2 separate regions of the Homo sapiens genome follow, and region 1 is linked to region 2. Evidence: promoter capture Hi-C in human tissues and cell types (Jung and others, 2019). All regions are on one chromosome and are shown on one strand. Each heading gives the region's core, a stretch centred on a gene start or on the middle of the fragment in contact. The rest is flanking DNA. Distances are from core to core; before and after follow the strand shown.

Evidence for each region. The method cuts DNA at HindIII sites, captures the fragments that hold promoters and counts their contacts. A contact is called where the count stands out against the background at its distance.
Region 1: a contact is called between a fragment that was not itself captured here and the fragment with the promoter of FAM91A1 in region 2, in 2 of the 25 tissues and cell types used here (dorsolateral prefrontal cortex and hippocampus).

The regions. Positions count from the first base shown.
Region 1 is chr8:123,506,094-123,509,830 of GRCh38, forward strand. It overlaps FBXO32 (F-box protein 32), which reads right to left. Exons shown (of 9, transcript NM_058229.4): 7 at 299-481. Among named protein-coding and RNA genes, the nearest start is that of FBXO32, 33 kb to the right of the region's middle. RefSeq lists an enhancer at 392-936. The HindIII fragment of the contact is 4,582 bases long and covers 1-3,737 here.
Region 2 is chr8:123,766,194-123,770,080 of GRCh38, forward strand. FAM91A1 (family with sequence similarity 91 member A1) reads left to right here and starts at 2,246. Exons shown (of 24, transcript NM_144963.4): 1 at 2,246-2,581. The coding sequence starts at 2,510. It overlaps LOC105375739 (a long non-coding RNA gene), which reads left to right. Exons shown (of 3, transcript XR_928607.4): 3 at 1-53. RefSeq lists a silencer at 2,432-2,581. The HindIII fragment of the contact is 9,142 bases long and covers 1-3,887 here.

The DNA of each region.
Region 1 (3,737 bases), core at 829-3,328, 260 kb before region 2:
TGGCATGAGCCTGTAGTCCCAGCTACTCGGGAGGCTGAGGTGGGAGGGTTGCTTGAGCCCAAGTGGCTGAGGTTACAGTGAGCTATGATTGCATCACTGCACTCCAGCCTGGGCCACAGAGCGAGACCCTGTCTCAAAAAACAAAATCACAAAACTCCTTCAACTGTCATTTTTCAGTCAAACCAGGGAACCTGGAATAGGGGGAACCCAGACCTCAGGCTTGAGCAGGGCACCAAGGAAGTTTGGGGTGAGGGCCAGAGAAGGAGGGTGGGAGGAAAGCCCACTGGGCCTTGCTGACCTGCCGCTCGGAGAAGTGGTACTGGCAGAGTTTCTTCCACAGCAGCCGGTCTTCGCTGAGCACGTGCAGGTCGGGGGCAGCCTGGCCCAGGCTGACCAGGTCCCGCCCGTCGCTCAGCCTCTGCATGATGTTCAGTTGTAGGCACAAAGGCAGGTCAGTGAAGGTGAGGCCTTTGAAGGCAGGCTGCAGAGAGAAGGGTGACAATAGGTGGGGGGGCCAGAGAGCAGCGATTCACCAGGCCACACCCTCCAGGCATGCAGCTGTGCCCGTCCTCCACCCTCAAGGCAGTTTATTGATAAGAGGTCGAAAGCAGTAGTAAATCTCCCCATCCTAAATGCAGACAGGAGACCATGGCCATGACCCTCAATGAAGTGTGGAGTGCGCTGAGCTGAGTGGTGCCAGAGGGATCGCCCTACATTTCCAAAGCTTGAAACTTTCACTCTTAAAGACTCTCCAAATAGCGCATGTGCTTTACTCAGTTCACACAATTACAAGGTTCGCTGCTTTCCTGAAGGCCTCACTGCCCTGGATGGAGTGGCCCAGCCTGCCACCCCAAGTCCCATCTCTCTGGCCCCCCTCCAGACATCAGGTCCCTCCAAGTAGGTTTACTCACTGGCACCTAAACACACCTGGCTCAGCCTGACCTCAATGCCTTCGCCTCCCCAGTCTTCTCTGCCCGGCCACGTGGTCATCCTGCTCAGATCCAGTTCAAACCTACTTCCTCTGAAAGGCCTTTTCTGTTTTTGTGACTCCCTTACTCACTGCACCTTCCTAGAATTCTTAGGATCTCTTTGAGACACATTTTGCAATATCCTTCTTTTTGTCATGCAACATGAGCTTTTTTTCTAAAAGAAACTTTGAAAGGAACATTCTTGCTGGAACTTAAGCTCTATGAAGGAAGGAATTTTAATCTTTTTTCACTACTGTGTCCAGGGTGTCTACAAGAGTGCCCAGCACACAGAAGGTGCTCAACAAATACCTGTGGAATGAATGAAGCCCAAATAATTAAATAGGTAGAAAACAATAACACAGAGACTCTGTGCTAGGGTGTGTGTGTGTGTGTGTGTGTGTGTGTGTGTGTGTGTGTGTACGTGCACATTGGGAATGGCAGGTCCAGAAGCCTTTGGCCCAAGCTCCACCATCCCTTGAGACTTCTCTATTTCAACCGAGGCCTCCGTGGAGCATTGTGAAAACTGCTGGTCTGTGGATGATACCTTGGCAATTAATGGCGAGCTTCTCCAAGAGCTTCTGGTACATCCCTGAACTTATTAATATATTTAAGCCTTTATTGTTTTAAATTTTGATGAGCTCATGATACCCTGCCCAGATCTACATCCTTGAAGGCAGGGTCTAATTTTATGTCCCTTGTAGACTAGCCCAGCACAAGCCACCTCTCCTGAGTGCCTACTATGGCCTGGTGCTGAAGTGGCTGCACTGAGCTCTTCAGGCTGGTGAGAGACCCAGAGGCAGAAACAAATAATCATAAAATAATATGAAATAATACAGTAAACGCTGTCATGGAGGGAAGCACAAAGCGCTGTGGGAAGAATCTGCACCTGGGAATCCGCATATGTATTTGCTGATGTGTCTTGAACAGCAACAGGATGCTGCCATCCAGATAAGTCAATAGACCACCTGGGACTGCGGTTCCTTGTCCTGCCCCTGCTGGTTCTGGGTGAGCTCTTGATTTTGGACTACTCACATTTTTCCATCAATGTTCTGTGACCTCTGAGAGGTCACAGGGGAAAAATAATACAGGATGAAGAAACCCTTCCTTAGCTCAGGGGAAAATATCCTGAGAATGGGTATCAATTTCCCTGCCCAAATTTTTACAGGAGCCAAACTCTGTACAAAGCACATCGAAGCCTAAACACATGGAGGATTCCAGGAGACACTAGGTCTGGGCAGTTCTCTCCTGTGTCCCCAGCAAGGCAGGGTAGGCACGAGGTGGGGAGGGAGCAGTGGCAAGGGGCCTTGGGAAGGCTAAGCTATGGAGAAGAATGGGAGGTGCAGGGGAGCAACATGGATGGACAGGCAGCACATCTGGATCCCAGCTCCCCTGGGAAGTCTCCCCATGTCCAAAATGAATGGCTTAGAAGACTCTGAAGATCCCTTCCAGCTCCAACAATCTCAGATGTAGAAGGACTTCAGCCTCCTATTTCATTCAAAGTATCTATGACTTGACAATTTATACCGCTCGGTTCTACCCCAGGCTGCTGGGCAGAGCTCTCAATTGTTTGCAAACTTCAGGTCTTTGCCAACCGCAGAAGGCCCTAGACCTATTTATCGTTTATCATCTCCTGCTGATCATATGAGCTAATAAAACTGCCATGAGATTTTCTTTTCGTTTCCAACACTTCAAAGCCTCTACTTTTTTGGTTAAAACTCCCAGGCCAATTATTACATTAACTCCTATTAAAGGCAAGTCCACTTGGCAGGGTTCACTCTGTCAAATTTTCAAACCTGAACTTTTCCAAAATCCTTGCCCAGACCCCATGCTAAGCCCTTCCTCCTGATAAGTGGTTAACTGCTTACATGCCTCTTCCTTTCGAATATAAACGTATAAAAGAAAAATTAGTCACTCTCGCTCCTCTAGTCAAGCATTTGGCTAACATCCACTAGGGTCTATGTCACTCCTCACATGCTTCAAAACAGTGCCCTGCCCACCGCATACTGTCACTGTATTTGATTTTTTCCCCAAGACCCAGTTCTCTTAATTTGTTTCCTTCATTCTTTATTATATTAATTATTTTGCCAATAAAAATTGGCTCCATAGAATTAGATATAAAAATTTTGCAGGAAAACAAAATTTTATGCTGGAAGGAGACTGACAGAACTTTGGCAAAATAGAAAGCATTTACTCTGAAAGTTGACTTTATATTTGCCTATAATAATGTACTTTTCTTTGGGCCAAACTGTTAAAAAAGTAAGTTTTAAAATACAGTCCAGACTGAAGTAATTAAGTCTTTTTTCTTTCTCTCTCTCTCAATTTCTCTTTCCTCTGCAGAGTTGAGCTTCTGTGTGGAGGCTGGGCTCAGTGGCTCATGCCTGTAATCCTGGTACTTTGGGAGGCTGAAGCGGGAGGATTGCTTGAGCCCAAAAGTTCGAGATCAGCCTGGGCAAGATGGTGAAACGCCATCCCTACTAAAAATACAAAAATTAGCTGGGTGTGGTGGCGAGTGACTGTAGTCCCAGCTACTCGGGAGGCTGAGGTGGGAGAATCATGTGAGCCCAGGAGGCCAAGGCTGCAGTGACCTAGGACCATGCCACTGCACTCTAGCTTGGGCAAGGGGAATAAGACCCTATCTCAAAAACAAACAAACAAACAAACAAACAAAAACAAAAAAAGAAAAGCCCTTTAAGGCTCCGTGGGTTCCAGTACAGCTCTCAATATAAGGAAGCTCAGAGCCAAGGAGGGTTGGGACAGAGGACAGTGGGA
Region 2 (3,887 bases), core at 996-3,495:
TTCTGACCTCTGTGGAATTTGAAAAGCCAAAGGTCTAGTAAAGTAAAAATTAGCAGGAGCCTCAGTCAGGGACGTAAAGGAAGGACATTATTGCTAAACGAAAAGGTGAGGTGCTGTAATGAGTGTCACATGTGGAGTCAGTCTAGTGAGCGACTGTTTCCAGCTTTCTGATGCTTGGGGAAGCAGTACTGTTCCTGAACTTCCCAGCAGAGGGGGTCATAGAGCCCTGTGGGTTAATTTACCGTCTTTGAACTCCTATCCTCTCAAAGACTGGTCCTTGGTGGGAAATGAGGCAGATCAGTACTTTAATAAGATTGTGTATTAAGCCAGAGTCCATCACTGGTTCCTGCTCGTAAGGGCTTGTTATTTGAATTCTTCCCATCCACATAGCTCTATCTCATTCCCATTTCCTCCTTCATGTGTCTGCTTTTCTCAGCTACTTGCCGAGTGAGAATCTTTTCTAGTCACAGGGTCGCATTTTCAAAGGTCTGTTTGCCTTATTAATTTAATGGGTGTAGGTTCACCTCTACTTATCCCACGTTCACTTTTATAGTTTTTGATGTGTCCACTAAACTCAATATAGTGAGTTTATCAGGCATTCACCTGCTGAACTGCTATCATTAGCTAAAATAATAGTTTACAGGGATTTTTTTAAGCTAAATTGACTTTAATTTTCATTGTTACTTATATTGCATTAGATCTAAGTTAGACTTTGGAAGAATATGGGTTCTTCCACACTTAGAACTGTAAAGCATTATTTTAGAGGATGTTTATGTCGTTGACTTTGAATGAACATTGTCTAAATTGGAACAGGAGGTAGAAGAGTTCAGTGAGTGAGAGCCTGAGTTGGGGAACTGAAAGGATGGCTCTGGAGTGAGGATAGCCTTCGGCTCCAGTTTGGCTCTGTCAGTGCTACCTGTGTGATCTTGCGAGCAAGTCATGAAGCCCTGCCAAGCCTCAGTCTCCTCCTCTATCAAACTGGGATAGTAAGTGGTTACTGTTGTAGGAATATCAGGGTTGTGAGGAATAATCTATTGTCAAGTCAAGGCCTTAATACATGGCGGGCAGGTAATCAATATTTGTTGAATAAATGTCTCACGGTTAGAGTTCAGTTAACCTTAGCTATGCTGATGAGGATCTGTAAACATAAGGTTCAAAGCACTTATCTTTGGGTTATTATAGTTGGATAATAGGAGACCAAAACATCTAAGCAAGGGCAGTGTGTACTTGTCACCTTTATTTCATCAGACATAATGGGGTTTCTGCTAAGCATCAGACTTGCCAGCTGTTGAGGTGTGAGCTAGGTATCTTATAAAAAGTTCTAAGTATACATCTCCCAGTATATAATAAAACATTATTTAAAACCATTGTTAAAAACTGAAAAACAGTTGCAATAACACTGAACTTGTCTCTGGTTGCTGCCAGGAATAATGGTCACGGGTTTGCTAAGGCAGCGTAACAACTTCTGAAAGAAATTATTCCCAAAGACCTTATCACTCAATCTGAAATTAAGACATGCTGGATTTTTGCTTTTAAGTGACTCTGGAGGCATTTGTGTGGAGCAGAATAAAGCAGAAACCGACAGGCTGCATGACAAAGTTGGCAAGGGTATCTCTCTGTCAGCCCTGTAGGCTGCCTCGACCTGTCAGCACCACTGTTTAAAATTTCAGCTCCCTGAATCCCTGCATTGTAAGAATTTGGATCTTCTTGGGAAGTGGAGCCCAATGACGTGCAGCACACCGCGGAAGGGAAGAGGGCTTACCAGACCTTTGCTCTCCCACTGCCCATGCTTCTCGCTCAACCCGGTGCGAGACCTGACTTAGAGATTATTTCTTTCTCCAGGGCCCTGGACCCGTCCCCGCAACCCCCCGCCCCGTCTCACTGGCCCGGGTTCCGGGCTGGCCTGTGGAGAACCCCCGCGAGCGCACCGCACTCCAATGTAAAGCCAGCCACTGCCGGCCCGCTTCCCAGGTCGCTTTTCTCTGAAAACCGACCCCAGTGCCTCCGGCTTTACAATTTGAGTAAACTGGGTCATCAGCAACGGCAACGCAGACCCAAGCGACTATCGCCGTTCATTCAGAGACTGAAACGGGGAGACGAAGCGCGCGGGCGGGGAACGCTCACCCGGGCACCTCCCGGTACCTCGTCGTCGCCCCGCCCCGCAGCCTGTAGAGGGCGTGGCTAGAGGCCAGTCCGTGCCCCGCCCCTCCGGCCGCGCGCCAGCGGGCGGAAGTGACGTGTGCCCAGAGCCATTTCCGGCGGCCCGAAACTAGGAAGAAACTTGGAGCTGTTCAGGCGATCCAGCCTCCAATCGCTGCTGCTCTTGTACTCGGTTGGCCCGGGCGGCGCTGAACTGTCGGGAGCCTAGGCCATGGGGCAGCCTGGGCCTTCTGCAGTGTGAGGCGCGGGGCCTCCCGCGTCGCTCCGCTGACAGGCTGCGGGCGGGCAGGCGGGAGGCGTAGTGTGGGTCGCGGTGGCGGCCCCGGCCGCCGGCCCTGGCCGCGGCATCATGAACATAGACGTGGAGTTCCACATCCGGCACAACTACCCCTGGAACAAGTTGCCGGCCAACGTGAGACAGGTACGGCCGGAACCTGGGACCGGGCCCCTGACGGATTCGGCCCGCCCAGCGGTCACCTGCTTGCCTCGCTCGCGGGGCCCGAGCGGGCTGCTGCCGGCTGACTCCCTTCCTTTACTCCTCCGTGGTCTTGGGGAGACGGACCTTCAGCCCAGGGCGAGGAGGGGACGGCTGTGGGGCCACAGGGCCAGGACGGGGCGATCGCTAAATGGGATGGCATGGTGTCCACAGGACTCGACTGGCGCCTTTGCCCGCAGGATACATTCAGCCAGGCACCTGCGATAGAGATTTTAAACACGGTCCTTGACCTCCGGAATTTCAGGATGGTGGGAAAGGGATGGGAAACAAATGAATACGATACAGGATGATAGCAGCTCATACACACCTGCATTGTAGTATATGTGAGAGCAGAGGGAGGGAGAAATTATCCTGGGAGAGTTGGAAGGATTTTTAAGGCAGGCACTTAAATTGGGCCTTGGAGGACGAATAAGAGTTAAATAAGAGGGAATAAAGATTTTTCCAGGGGGAGGGAAAGTCATTTTACAAAGCTTGGATGAGTGAAAGAACATGTCTCATGAGTAGCAAGTGACTGTATCACCAGAGTTTGGACTGACATGTTTGGAGTTGAAGTTTTTTGAGTGCGCGGGGCTGGTAGCAGATGAGCCTGGAAAAGTGGTCAGGGCCAGATTTTGAAGGTGCTTGTGTGCTTTGTTTTGTTGGACTTTATCCTCCAGACAAGATGGGTTTATCAGAGATGTTTCAACAAGAGTGACATGAGGTTTTTGAAAGTTAATTCTCGATTTTTTTAGTCTGTTTTACTCAATTGTTTAATAGATATTTATTGACCACCTACTAGGTGCTGTGCGTTGCTCTAGGTGCAGGTAATTTGCAACAGTCAACAAGACAAAGACTGCCTTCATGGAGCTTACATTTTACTAAAGAAAGACGTAAACAAATAAATGAATAAATACGTAACATAGCAGATGGTTTTAAGTCTTACGAAAGTAGTGATATGGGCTACAGATAACGCACTGCTGCTCTGGTCATAGATTGACCTTCGCTTCCTCCCATTATACTTGGTCGAGAGTGAAATTCAGTTTTCTGTTGGCACTCGGCAGTGGCATTTTTGGGAAGTTTGGAATGGTGGCGGTGATGGTATATAAGGATTATTTATTTATTTTTATTTTTATTTTCATTTCTTTGAGACAGAGTCTCCTGTTGCCCAGGCTGGAGTGCAGTGGTGTGATCTCCGCTCACTGCAAACTCTGCTTCTTGGGTTCAAGCGATTCTCCTGCCTCAGCCTCCCGAG